3 separate regions of the Homo sapiens genome follow, and regions 1 and 2 are each linked to region 3. Evidence: promoter capture Hi-C in human tissues and cell types (Jung and others, 2019). All regions are on one chromosome and are shown on one strand. The core of a region is centred on a gene start or on the middle of the fragment in contact, and the rest is flanking DNA. Distances in the headings are between cores, read along the strand shown.

Region 1 (4,443 bases), core at 83-2,582, 97 kb after region 3:
CTTTTCTTTTTTTTTTTTTTTTAAGATGGAGTCTCACTCTGTCGCCCAGGCTGGAGTGCAGTGTTGCGATCTTGGCTCACTACAGCCTCCACCTCCCAGGTTCAAGCGATTCTCGTGCCTCAGCCTCCTGAGTAGCTGGGATTACAGGTGTCTGACCCCACGCCCAGCTAATTTTTTGTATTTTTAGTAGAGATGAGGTTTCACCATGTTGGCCTGGCTGGTCTTGAACTCCTGACCTCGTGATCTGCCTGCCTCGGCCTCCCAAAGTGCTGGGATTACAGGCGTGAGCCACCACGCTCTGCCAGATTTATTCTTTTCAAAATGTTTGTTACTTTAAGAAATTTTAGATAAGAGGGTTAGATTCCACCATTGTGATCTTTTTTTTTCTTTTGAGATGGAGTCTCGTTCTGTCACCCAGGCTGGAGTGCAGTGGTGCGATCTTCGCTCGCTACAGCCTCCACCTCCCAGGTTCAAGTGATTCTCGTGTCTCAGCCTCCCGAGTAGCTGGGACTACAGGCGCCCGCCACCATGCCTGATTAATTTTTGTATTTTTAGTAGAGACGGGGTTTCACCATGTTGGCCAGGCTGGTCTTTAACTCCTGACCTCAAGTGATCCGCCCACCTCACCCTCCCAAAATGTTGGGATTACAGGTGTGAACCACTGTGCCTGGCGTTAGCGTTGTGGTCTAATAGTACTACAGTACTATTGTTTTTTGTAAATAGAATTGCAGTCTGAACAGGAAGAACTTCCACCATAGGTGTTTTGAAGAAGTTAATTTTTTGCATAAGTAGAAAGCCATGGGAGCATTAAACTTAACAGTCTATTGCTTGTGTGGTAACGTAGGGAATTAATTTTGAATTAAATGTGAACTAGACAATTTGCTGTGGAATACTACGTTGAAATTATTGAAAAACACTTATCCAGTGTGAGGCTTTTTTTTTTTTTAATTTATTTATTTTTTATTGATAATTCTTGGGTGTTTCTCATAGAGGGGGATTTGGCAGGGTCATAGGACAATAGTGGAGGGAAGGTCAGCAAATAAACAAGTGAACAAAGGTCTCTGGTTTTCCTAGGCAGAGGACCCTGCGGCCTTCCGCAGTGTTTGTGTCCCTGGGTACTTGAGATTAGGGAGTGGTGATGACTCTTAACGAGTATGCTGCCTTCAACCGTCTGTTTAACAAAGCACATCTTGCACCGCCCTTAATCCATTTAACCCTGAGTGGACACAGCACATGTTTCAGAGAGCACAGGGTTGGGGGCAAGGTCACAGATCAACAGGATCCCAAGGCAGAAGTTTTCTTAGTACAGAACAAAATGAAAAGTCTCCCATGTCTACTTCTTTCTACACAGACACGGCAACCATCCGATTTCTCAATCTTTTCCCCACCTTTCCCCGCTTTCTATTCCACAAAACCGCCACTGTCATCATGGCCCGTTCTCAATGAGCTGTTGGGCACACCTCCCAGACGGGGTGGTGGCCGGGCAGAGGGGCTCCTCACTTCCCAGTAGGGGCGGCCGGGCAGAGGCGCCCCTCACCTCCCGGGCGGGGCGGCTGGCCGGGCGGGGGGGCTGACCCCCCCACCTCCCTCCCGGATGGGGCGGCTGGCCTGGCGGGGGGCTGACCCCCCCACCTCCCTCCCGGACGGGGCGGCTGGCCTGGCGGGGGGGCTGACCCCCCCCACCTCCACCTCCCTCCCGGACGGGGCAGCTGGGCGGGGGGCTGACCCCCTCACCTCCCTCCCGGATGGGGCGGCTGCTGGGCGGAGACGCTCCTCACTTCCCAGACGGGGTGGCTGCCGGGCGGAGGGGCTCCTCACTTCTCAGACGGGGTGGTTGCCGGGCAGAGGGTCTTCTCACTTGTCAGACGGGGTGGCCGGGCAGAGGTGCTCCTCACATCCCAGACGGGGCGGCGGGGCAGAGGCGCTCCCCACATCTCAGACGATGGGCGGCCGGGCAGAGACGCTCCTCACTTCCTAGATGTGATGGCGGCCGGGAAGAGGTGCTCCTCACTTCCTAAGTGGGATGGCGGCTGGGCGGAGACGCTCCTCACTTTCCAGACTGGGCAGCCAGGCAGAGGGGCTCCTCACATCCCAGATGATGGGCGGCCAGGCAGAGACGCTCCTCACTTCCCAGACGGGGTGGCGGCCGGGCAGAGGTTGCAGTCTCGGCACTTTGGGAGGCCAAGGCAGGCGGCTGGGAGGTGGAGGTTGTAGCGAGCCGAGATCATGCCACTGCACTCCAGCCTGGGCACCATTGAGCACTGAGTGAACGAGACTCCGTCTGCAATCCCGGCACCTCGGGAGGCCGAGGCTGGCGGATCACTTGCGGTTAGGGGCTGGAGACCGGCCTGGCCAACACAGCGAAACCCCGTCTCCACCAAAACCAGTCAGGCGTGGCGGCGTGAGCCTGCAATCGCAGGCACTCGGCAGGCTGAGTCAGGAGAATCAGGCAGGGGGGTTGCAGTGAGCCGAGATGGCAGCAGTACAGTCCAGCTTCGACTCAGCATGAGAGGGAGACCGTGGAAAGAGAGGGAGAGGGAGACCATGGGGAGAGGGAGAGGGAGAGAGGGAGAGGGAGAGGGGGAGAGGGAGAGGGGGAGGGAGAGGGAGCGTGACGCTTTTTTTAAATGAAGCTCGTGACAGACGGAAGTATACCAGTGATTAAGAAGATGCTGGGATGGGCTTTTTCAATAGATGCTCTGCAGGTTTCCAAAATGAGTGCCAGAGGAGGGGAGAGGGCAGTGTCAGAGTCTTCTGAACATTCTGAGAGCTGAGCTGCTGTGAGACAGGCTTAAATGAGAACCCTAGTTTTCAAAACTTAATGTTTTAATGGGAATGACCATAGTTATTAGTGTTAAAAGATACATTTCTTCTTATTTATTTAGAAGATGAAGTTCAGAGAATTTAGGTAGCCTAAATAAGATGGCATAGTTAGTAATTCTATGAGCTTTTCCTTGTTTAGTAAATCGGTATTAAAATGGAATTATTAAGTGGGGTGTGGTGGCTCACGCCTGTAGTCTCAGCACTTTCGGAGGCCGAGGGAAGCAGATAACGTGAGCACAGGCGTTTGAGACCAGCCTGGGCAAATGAAGATACCCTGTTTCTACAAAAAATACAAAAGTTAGCCAGGCGTGGTGGCAGGTGCCTGTGGTCCCAGCTCCTCAGGAGGCTGAGGGGAAGGATTCCCTGAGCCCAGCAGTATAAAATTGACCATTTGTACCATTTTTGAGTGTGCAGTTCTCTGGTATTAGATTCACACGGTGCAAAGCCATCACCACCATCCCTCTCCAGAACTTGGTCTTCCCAGACGACACCGGCTACCCATTAACACTAACTCTTCATCCCTCTCCCCATAACCTCGACTCTCCCCATAACCCCTGACCACCAATCTGCTTTCTCTTATGAATGTCACCACTCAAGGCACCTCTCCTATAAGGGGGGGGGGGGGGTCATACGATATTTGTCCTTTCTTCTCTTATGAATGTCACCACTCAAGGTGCGTCTCCTATGGGAGGGGGTCATACGATATTTGTCCTTTCTTCTCTTATGAATGTCACCACTCAAGGTGCGTCTCCTGCGGGGGGGTGGTCATACGATATTTGTCCTTTCTTCTGTTATGAATGTCACCACTCAAGGTGCGTCTCCTGTTGGGGGGGGGGGTCATACGATATTTGTCCTTTCTTCTCTTATGAATGTCACTGTCCAAGGCACCTCTCCTGTAAGGGGTGGGGGGTCATACAATATTTGTCCTTTCGTGACTGGCATATTTCCCTTTTGGATCAGTTTGTTCCTGTGGGTCAGAATCTTCATTTGAACAGTTTGCCCCACAGCTCAGATTCCTCAATTGTGACTACCCCCTGCAGGTCAAATTCAATTTTTGTTTACTTATTTTTGAGACAGAGTCTTGCTGTCTTGCTCGGGCTGGAGTGCAGTGGTGTGATCGTGGATCACTATAGCCTCGACCTCCTGGGCTCAAACAACCCGCCTGCTTCAACCTTCCATAGTGCTGAGATTACATGCGTGAGCTGCTGTGCCCAGTGTCAAATTTAATTTTTGTTTTGTTTTGTTTTTGAGACAGAATCTCGCTCTGTCACCAAGGCTGGAGTGCAATGGCACTATCTTGGCTCACTGCATCCCCCACCTCCCAAGTTCAAGCAATTTTCCTGCTTCAGCCTCCTGAGTAGCTGGGATTACAGGCACCTGGCACCACGCCCGGCTAATTTTTTGTATTTTTAGTGGAGACGGGGTTTTGCCATATTGGCCAGGCTGGTCTTGAACTCCTGACCTCAGGACATTTATAGGATACACTTATTATTTTTATGACCAAAGCATGTGATTTTTATTTTTTAATTTTAATTTTATTTTTTAATGTTTTTTGTTCTTGTTGTTTTTGAGACGGTGTCTTAGTCTGTTGCCCAGGCTGGAGTGCAGTGGCGCAATCTC
Region 2 (4,450 bases), core at 181-2,680, 120 kb after region 3:
TGGGGTTTTACCATGTTAGCCAGGATGGTCTCCATCTGCTGACCTCGTGATCCGCCCGCCTTGGCCTCCCAAAGTGCTGGGATTACAGGCGTGAGCCACCGCGCCCGGCCAGGTTTGCGTATTTTTTAATAATTCTTTTTCTGAAGTTTTTTTCCTGACTGCTTTTGTTGCTGGGTGATGGAATATATTCTGACATTGGATGTGCAAGATCTTAAAAAAGTCTGTGTAATAGAGTCTGTGTAAGAGAGCCTGTGTTGAGAAGTTCTGTAGTCTCTTCAGAATGAAAATTCATTTAAATATTTTAGGACTTCACTCCAGAGGGTTTTAGCGCATGCATAGCGAGGAAACTTTTTTTTTTTTGAGACGGAGTCTCACTTTGTGGCCCAGGCTGGAGTGCAGTGGCTCGATCCTGGCTCACTGCGATCTCTGCCTCTCAGGTTCACGCCATTTTCCTGCCTCAGCCTCCCGAGTAGCTGGGACTACAGGCGCCCACCACCACGCCCGGCTAATTTTTGTATTTTTAGTAGAGACAGGGTTTCACGGTGTTAGCCAGGATGGTCTCGATCTCCTGACCTCATGATCTGCCCGCCTCGGCCTCCCAAAGTGCTGGGATTACAGGCGTGAGCCACTGTGTCTGGCCGCAAGGAAACTTATTTTTTATAAACCACGATGCGCTCTCTCTTTCCGTTTTGACTGTGACACACACCAGCCACACCAGGATTCATGCGCACTCACACGCATTGCCACACAGCCACAGATGTTCCTGTTGATGCCACATGGATTTATTTTCAGTCCCGGCAGGCTTGGAGGCAGGTGGCCCCCTTTCTGTAGCCCCTTGCTGGGTGGTGCCTGGATGTCCTCTGGCTTCTCCAGGGCTCTGCCCACGTTGCTGTGAGTTGGATTTTTTGGGGCCCTTAGTTTGTGCTTGATATTTTCTTATGCTTTCTTCCTTTCCCTCTTACCTCCTCCTCCCCCTCCTTTTGAGACAGAGTTTTGTCGTGTCATCCAGGTTGGAGTGCATTGGTACTCACAGCTCACTGTAGTGTTGACCTCCTGGTCTCAAGCAATTCTCCCACCTCAGCCTCCTGAGTGCCTGGGACTACAGGTGCACACCTCCATGCCCAGCTAAGTTTTTATTCTGTTTTTATTGTTACAAAGTTGAGGTTTCAGTGTGTTGCTCAGGCTGGTCTGAACTTCTGGCCTCATGTGATCCTCCCCCCTCAGCCTTCCAGAGTTCTGGGATTACAGGCCTGAGCCACCACGCTGGACCGAGACATTTTCTGGTGGTCTGCTTTTCCTAGTTCCACTGTTATTTATCCCTCCCCCCAGGGGAACATGTACATTTTACGTGAACATATTGATAAAATGTTCATTTCTAATTACAGCACACTGAATTCTTCCGGAGGAAGAATCCTGTGAACCCTGCCATTGTCCCCTTGAGGACTGGAGAAGTAGGAAGAGGCAGGGAAATGGTTGCGGGTGAGCACTGGGCTAGAGGTTCTGTGTTTTAGACCTCAGTCCTGAAAGGCTGTGATCTCCTCTGAGTCTCTGATTCTTTGTCAGCTTCCTCATAAGAGCCAAGTCACAGATTATGGAGTTAAGGTAGTGGGCTGCGGCTCAGACCCCACACCTGTGAGAGACACAGGCCTCTCCTGCTGTGGGTGTGTGCAGTAGAGCTGGAGTCTTTGACTTCTCCGGAGGCCGCCCATCAGTCTAGGTCAGCTGCACTGTGGGTAGTGTTAGAGTTGAGCTTACAGCTGGCTCTGTTGGTGATCATTGGGAATGAAAACGTTCCACAGAGTTCTGAGGGGGACGGAGTTGTGTTGAGAACACCTTTGGTGTTGTGTGTCAGTGGTGTAGATGAAGAATAGATCTGAGGTGGATGGAGGTGTGCTGAGAACACCTTTGGTGTTGTGTGTGAGTGGTGTAGATGAAGAATAGAACAAGCTTTTCTTTGCTGATTGTGTGGTTGTATTCACAGCCTCAATTGCTGAGGCGCTGTGGTGTGTTTCAGCTTTATCCTAAATATCACATTGCATTTTAGATGGGTTTTCTCACCCATATCCCTGGATCACTGTTTTACATGGAGAACTTTGACACTTGTTTTTTCTTTGGTGTAGTTTTTAGCACTGAAAGTGTATACAGATAGTCCCTGACTTAATGATGGTTCGACTTAGGATTTTTGACTTTACACTGGGTTTATTGGGAGGTAACCCCATTGCAAGTCAAGGAACATTTTATCTCCTTAAAAGTAAAATCATTAATTTAGTGTTGTCTGCTTTTAAATTTTTACATATTCAGAGGTCCTATATATTTGTGCTTAGGATTCAGTTGTCTATACTGGAAAACAGCATTTTCCAAAAAAGTTTTCAGTTTACTGAAAACAGTGGGACTTCCTTGAACCTTCAGTGCTGCGGGTAGGAAAGAAGACTCTGGGACTGTGCATGCATGTGGATTTGAACAACGTGCCACACAGAGGGAGTTTCCCATTGTGATGTTTATCTTCTATATGAATGGAAGAATACAGTTCTTTTTTTTTTTTGGTTTTGTTTTTTTTAAGAGAAAGGTTAAAATTTTTGTTTGTTTTTGTTTCTGTTTTTGTTTGAGGCAGGGTCTTGCTCTGTCGTTCAGGCTGGAGTGCAGTGGTATGATCACGAACTCATTGGCTCAAGCAGTCTCCCATCTCAGCCTCTCCAGCAGCTGGGATCACAGGCATGCAACCCCACACCTGGCTAGTTTATTTTAAAATTTTTTATAGAGATGCGGTCTCACATGTTGCTCTGGTTGGCCTTGAACTTCTGGGATCAAGCAGTCCTCCCACCTCGGCCTCCTAAATGCAGTAACATTTGATGACTTGAGATTTGAATACTTTAGCTTCGAAGGGACTGTGCTTGGTTCTTGGGGGCAATGCCTTCCAAACTGTCCATCATGACCCAGTATGTCTTTTTTTAGAAAATTTTCTTGGATGGGCACGGTGGCTCATACCTGTAATCCCAGCACTTTGGGAGGCCCAGGTGGGTGGATCACCTGAAGTCATAAGTTCAAGACCAGCCTGGCCCAACCTAGTGAAACCCTGTATCTACTAAAAATACGCACACACACACACAAATTAGCTGGATGTGGTAGCACACGCCAGTAGTCCCAGCTACTCGGGTGGGTGAGACAGGAGAATTGCTTGAACCCAGGAGGCGGAGGCTGCAGTGAGCTGAGATCGCACCACTGCACTCCAGCCTGGGCAACAGAGTGAGACTCTGTGTTGAAAAAAAAAAAATGTTCCCTATCCCAAGGCCATAAAGATAGCTTCCTACGCCTTCTGCACATTTTGTACTTTTGCCCTTTGCATTTATACCTTTAATGTATCCTAAATTGATGTTTGTGTATGGTGTGAGATAAGAAGCCAGCTGTTCCTAGTCTTCATGCAGACACCAGTTGTGCCAGCCTCCTGGGCTGCGCACGCGGTTCGTGGACCCATCTCCAGTGCCCCTGCTGTGTCCAAGCTTGCGGTGCCCTCCTGGCCAGCGGGCTCTCCTTGGGACACTGCCACTTGCCTTCATGGTGGACTCTGCCTGGTGTTGGTGTCTAGAAATACAATGGACTTGTGTATATTCATCTTATATTTTGTATCCAGGAATTTTTCTTTCTACAGATGAGGAAACTAAGAATGATTTTAACCATGGCTGCCCAACTCCACAGCCCCCGGGCCTAGTTTGCATTATGCATTGCCCTGCACTGACCCATAGGAGATTGAACTGGGCATAGCGTCGAGGTGCCCTGGAGGGTGGGTTGCTGGAGCTGGGAGTGGCATTAGGAGTAGTGGAGAGGCATGGCGGAGGAGCGGATGCATGGGAGGTGCAGAGGCCAGTGAGAAATGAGAGTGGCCAGGGCACCACAGCCTCCCTACCAGACAGGAAGAGCCGGAGAGAGCTGGTCTGAGGGACAGCGTCTCTAGCCTTGAATCCATGGCTTTCATAAACCCCTTGGACATCTGGTGAGTGGGCTCTTGGGAGAGATGTCAGGTTGGAGAGAGCTCTGGAGGACTGTCTCTGGAGGACTGTTTGCTCAGGGGAGATGGTGGCATGCTGGGAAGTGAGGGGCTGCTCAGTGAGAGAGTGGGAGGCACAGAAGAGCAGAAAGAAGAAGAGGTGAATGAGGAGAGAGGAAGTAGGGGTGTGGAGGAGTCAGTGGGAGGCGGGAAGAGCCAGCCTGTTTGCTGCACTGGTTTGGGAACATTAGAGTGAAGAAAACAGATGTTGGGGCAAACAATACAGTCTTTCACTTTTTGGTATTTTTTTGGTGGCTTTTTAAAAAATTCTCTGTCATATTAGCATATTAGCATCATGCTTGGTTCATGGAATGAGAGGCCACTGTTGTTGGCCCTCTTCATAAGTGGACGTTCCTTCTCCATTTCCAGGTTAGAAGGTGTGTGCTGCGCTTTCAGTGATGGATCTGT
Region 3 (4,624 bases), core at 1-2,500:
GTCCATTAAGGTTATCTCTGCGGAAACGCACAGGTGAACCTTAGCAGTCCCGCTTAGCTCATCACCCACAATGTTTTGGTTCTTCTCACCCCAGCAAGACCCAGGGACCGGTGTCACTGATAAAGGAGCCAAGCCTCACTGTCCCCGCGCACCAGGACGGCCAGAGAGCCGTGTACTCACAGAACTGTCTCCCTTCTTGGGGGCCGAGGGCTTCCTGGGGAAGAGGATGAGTTTGGAGCGGTACTCCTTCAGCCGCTGCACGTTGGCCTGCAGGGACTCCGTGGACTTGTTCCGCCTCCTCGGATCCACAGAAATGCCGATGGTCCGGGCCACCTTCTTGTGAATGCCGGCCACCTGCCCCAGAACCAGAGAGAGATGGAGACAGGCCCGGGCTTTCTCCAGCCCCGAGGCCTGGATGAAAAGCCTCAGCAATCAGATGGAAAAGGGTTCAAATGTGCTTTCATCAAGGCCGTACAGCGATTCCGGAGAATGTCATCACGCGACTGAGGCCAACAGAGGGGACTTCGGGGCCTTCCTGACACCGCAGCGCTGCCAGTACTCACCCTGAGCTCCTCCAGGCTGAAGCCGCGGCCGGCGCGCACCTTCGTGTGGTACCGAACCGTGGGGCAGCGCACGATGGGCCGGATGGGACCCGACGCGGGGCGCGGGGCGATGCGGCGCGCCTTGGCTTGCCGGGCCTTACGTCTGGTGGAGAGAAGCGCAGCGGCGGTCACCCTTGCCTAAGGCCGCCAGGCCAGCGCTCCGCGACGGTTGCAGACAGCGCCCCCCGCCCTGGCATCGGCCACCCGCAAGCCAAGGCGCAGCCGCGGGCACGAGCCCCAGGGGCAGCCCCGAGCGCAGGGCTCACCTGCGGATCTTACGGGCCGGCTGGTTGAACCACGTGGCCACGCGCCGCTGCCAGTCCTTGTGGAAGTGGGGCTTCAAGACCATGCCATTCCGGCTGGGCGCCATGGCTGCCTACGGCCCTGCGGCTGCGGACGAGAGGGGAGCGAGTGAGAGGCCGGACCCCGGGCGCGCGCACCCCCCCGGGCCTCCGCCCCGAACCCTCCAGACTGGGCCGTCCGGCCGCGCCTAGAGCCCGGGCAGCGGCCGAACGCTGTCTGCGAAGAAGAAGGGGCCCATCCACTCCCGCGTTGGCTGAAGCGCCAGGCCGATGGCGCTGGATGATGCCCAAAGGCCAGGACCCAGTCTCCCTCACCTCCTGCGCAGGAAAACAGCCGAGCGGAAAGGAAGCGGCCCCGCAATGCACTCTGGGATGATAGCAGGGCCGGCCAACCAGAAGCGCCGGGCGCTCTGACCAATCAGAGCCCCGAAAGGAGGAACTGACGTCGCCGCGGCTCTCCCGGCAGCCCTAGGGCCGCCGTCGCAGACATGTTGCCGCTGAGAATGCGGCGGGGCGGCCGTGATTCCTGGGCCCTGAGTAACCGACGGCCGGACTTGCTTGACGTCCGCCGTTACTGCCCCGGCGCTTCAGCCGCTGCGCGGGCCGCGGCCGAGTCCTGTCTTGCGGGCTAACGCGCGCGAGTCCGGTATCTGGGCCGACGGCGAACGGGCGACGCCCGAGGAATTCTGTTTGTTCACATTTGTGAGACACGTTTGCAGCGCAAAGGCAGAAAAACTTCAGTGACATCCGAGTTTGCGCAACCTAAGGCCTTCGTCCTTGTCGTTCCAGCGTTTATTCTCCTCCCATCCATTTAGAACATTTGTGGTTTTTTTTTTTGTTTTTTTTTTTTGGAGACGGAGTCTCGCTCCGTCGCCCAGGCTGGAGTGCAATGGCGCGATCTCGGCTCACTGCAGCCTCCGCGTCCCAGGTTCAAGCAATTCTGCCTCAGCCTCCCGAGTAGCTGGGATTACAGGCGCCCGCCGCCACACCCTGCTAATTTTTGGTATTTTAGTAGACGGAGTTACTGTTGGCCTCTGTCGCTTTCCCTTGGCCCAGGATTAGGTGACTTCTCTAAGGTCAGGGGTACCCGACTGAAAATGTCACACTCTGACCTGCTGTGCCTACTGCCTTCCTTCACAAAGAAAAGCATCAACAAAAAGCCATCTCTTCTCTAGTATAAGTCTGTGAAGGCACCATCCATCTTACTGCTACCTGGAAACCTTTAAATCCCAATAACCCTCTTTCTTCCCTACCCTCACCCAATCACCACGCTTCCTCCTGGTAAAACTTATTATTATTTTTTTTTTTTGAGACGGAGTCTCCCTCTGTTGCCCAGGCTGGAGTTCAGTGGTGCGATCTCTGTTCACTGCAAGTTCTGCCTCCCGGGTTCACGCCATTCTCCTGCCTCTGCCTCCCAAGTAGCTGGGACTACAGGCGCCCACCATCACGCCCAGCTGATTTTTTGTATTTTTAGTACAGACGGGGTTTCACTGTGTTAGCCAGGATGGTCTCGATCTCCTGACCTCGCGATCCGCCCGCCTGGGCCTCCCAAAGTGCTGGGATTACAGGCGTGAGCCACCGTGCCTGGCCAACGTAATCCACATTTTAAGAATTTCACAGTTCCAGCACTTTGGGAGGCTGAGGTGGGCGGATCAGCCGAGGTCAAGAGTTTGAGATCACCCTGGCTAAGATGGTGAAACCCTGTCTCTACTAAAAATACAAAAAAGCTGGGCGTGGTGGCGCATGCCTGTAATCCTAGCTACTTAGGAGGCTGAGTCACCAGAATTGCTTGAACTGGGGAGGCAGAGGTTGCAGTGAGCCAAGATCACATTACTGCACTCTAGCCTGGGCAACAGAGCAAGACTCAGTCTCAAAAAGAAAAAAAAGTATTTCACAGGCCAGGCACGGTGGCTCATGCCTGTAAATCCCAGCACTTTGGGAGGCCGAGGCGGGTGGATCACCTGAGGTCAGGAGTTGGAGACCGGCCTAGCCAACATGGCAAAATCCCGCCTCTACTAAAAATACAAAAATTAGCCATGTGTGGTTGTGTACACCTGTAATCCTAGCTACTCCAGAGAGTAGGACAGGGGAATCACTTGAACCCAGGAGGCAGAGGTTACAGTGAGTCGAGACTGCACCACTGCACTCCAGCCTGGGTGACAGAGTTAAGCCTCCGTCTCAAAAATGAAAAATTTAAGAGCTGGGCGTGCTGGCTCACACCTGTAATCCCAGCATTTTGGGAGCCCAAGGCAGGCAGATCACGAGGTCAGGAGATCGAGACCATCCTGGCTAACATGGTGAAACCCCGACTCTACTAAAAATACAAAAAATTAGCCGGGCGTGGTGGCAGGCGCCTGTGGTCCCACCTACTTGGGAGGCTGAGGCAGGAGAATGGCGTGAACCCGGGAGGCGGAGGTTGCACTGACCCAAGATCGTGCCACTGCACTCCAGCCTGGACTACAGAGCAAGATTCCATCTCCAAAAACAAATAATAATTAAAAAATAATAAATTAATTTCACAAAAGGCTTGGCACAGTGGCTCACACCTGTAATCCCAACACATTGGGAGGCCAAGGCAGGAGGATCACTTGAACTCAGAAATTCGAGTCTAGCCCTGTCTCTACAAAAAGTACAAAAATTAGTCGGGCATAATGGTGCGTGCCTGCGGTCCCAGCTACTTGGGAGGCTGAGTCAGGAGGATTGCTTGAGCCCAGAAGATCGAGGCTGCAGTGAGCCGAGATGGCGCCACTGCACTCTAGCCTGGGCGACAGAGCAAGACTCTGCCAAAAACCAACACAACAGCAAAAAAAAAACAATTACCGAGGACACTACCCTTGGCTACACCAGCTAAAACCCTCCCATCGATGTGCTGGTCTTTGGATTTGGAGAACTGGGGCAAAGGTCAAGGCATCTCTCAGAGATGCCACCCTCGGGTGTGTGACTGCACCTGTGGCTGCCTCCTTACTGCTCCGCCAGCGTTTCAGTGTTGCAGCAACAAGAGGACAATCCACTCACGTCACTGCACCACAGGGAGGGCAGAAGCAAGGGGGCCGGAGTGGGAGCCGCATGCCCCGGAACTCAGGGCCAGGGTGTCCTGGGTCGTCTTCTATCCCTACGGGGTCCAGGCCCCAGATTCCTACAGAAGGAGTTTTTCACTTAGTCCCTGCATTACTCAAATTATAAACTGAAACCACAAGACCCTGTGATCCAGGGCAAGCCCACCAGCTCCTCTGCATTAGAGCTGGCCAGACAATGCAAATGTAGATTTTCCAACTACACAGTTTATTAGTAAAGTATCTCAACAATTCTCAGAGCAGTAAAAACCAAGGCATCCCCAACACTGCATGCGTGACTAGACCAGCAAGAAGTCCTCAACTTGCACCAGTCCACATGGCAGCAGGGGGCAGTGGTGAGTCCTCCGGAGCCCAGTGCCTGGGCCTGACTGGCCCCATTGATGAGTGAGCTGGATGACAGGGCCGCTGGAGATAGGACAATCGGCTCACAGGGTCCTTTCATGTCCGATCCCCTTAGCATTCCGAGGGAGCCACAGGAACTGGGGCGGTCGTGCAAGCGTCGGCATGAACAGGGGTCTGTTTGGAGTCTGAATGCTCTGCTGCCTCTGGGTGGCCTCAGCCACACTGGGAACGACTGTCTATAACCCTGGGAACTCGAAGTGTTCCATGCTCACTCGGGAAGCACTGATAACCTTCCCCATAGGGG

What was found. The method cuts DNA at HindIII sites, captures the fragments that hold promoters and counts their contacts. A contact is called where the count stands out against the background at its distance.
Region 1: a contact is called between a fragment that was not itself captured here and the fragment with the promoter of RPL13 in region 3, in 2 of the 25 tissues and cell types used here (hippocampus and stomach).
Region 2: a contact is called between a fragment that was not itself captured here and the fragment with the promoter of RPL13 in region 3, in 6 of the 25 tissues and cell types used here (bladder, dorsolateral prefrontal cortex, hippocampus and 3 more).

What each region holds. Positions count from the first base shown.
Region 1 is chr16:89,460,187-89,464,629 of GRCh38, reverse strand. All of the region lies in intron 1 of ANKRD11 (ankyrin repeat domain containing 11), which reads left to right. Among named protein-coding and RNA genes, the nearest start is that of ANKRD11, 28 kb to the left of the region's middle. RefSeq lists an enhancer at 867-1,855. The HindIII fragment of the contact is 3,625 bases long and covers 1-3,144 here.
Region 2 is chr16:89,437,146-89,441,595 of GRCh38, reverse strand. The region is part of intron 1 of ANKRD11 (ankyrin repeat domain containing 11); the gene reads left to right. The region is part of intron 1 of LOC101927817 (a long non-coding RNA gene); the gene reads right to left. Among named protein-coding and RNA genes, the nearest start is that of ANKRD11, 51 kb to the left of the region's middle. The HindIII fragment of the contact is 5,376 bases long and covers 1-4,118 here.
Region 3 is chr16:89,557,308-89,561,931 of GRCh38, reverse strand. It overlaps RPL13 (ribosomal protein L13), which reads right to left and starts at 1,250. Exons shown (of 6, transcript NM_000977.4): 1 at 1,220-1,250; 2 at 869-992; 3 at 564-705; 4 at 181-354. The coding sequence starts at 972. SNORD68 (small nucleolar RNA, C/D box 68) reads right to left here and starts at 502; the gene lies at 431-502. SPG7 (SPG7 matrix AAA peptidase subunit, paraplegin) reads right to left here. Exons shown (of 17, transcript NM_003119.4): 17 at 4,166-4,624. RefSeq lists silencers at 668-717, 778-1,047, 2,589-2,808 and an enhancer at 1,158-1,267. The HindIII fragment of the contact is 11,945 bases long and covers 1-4,624 here.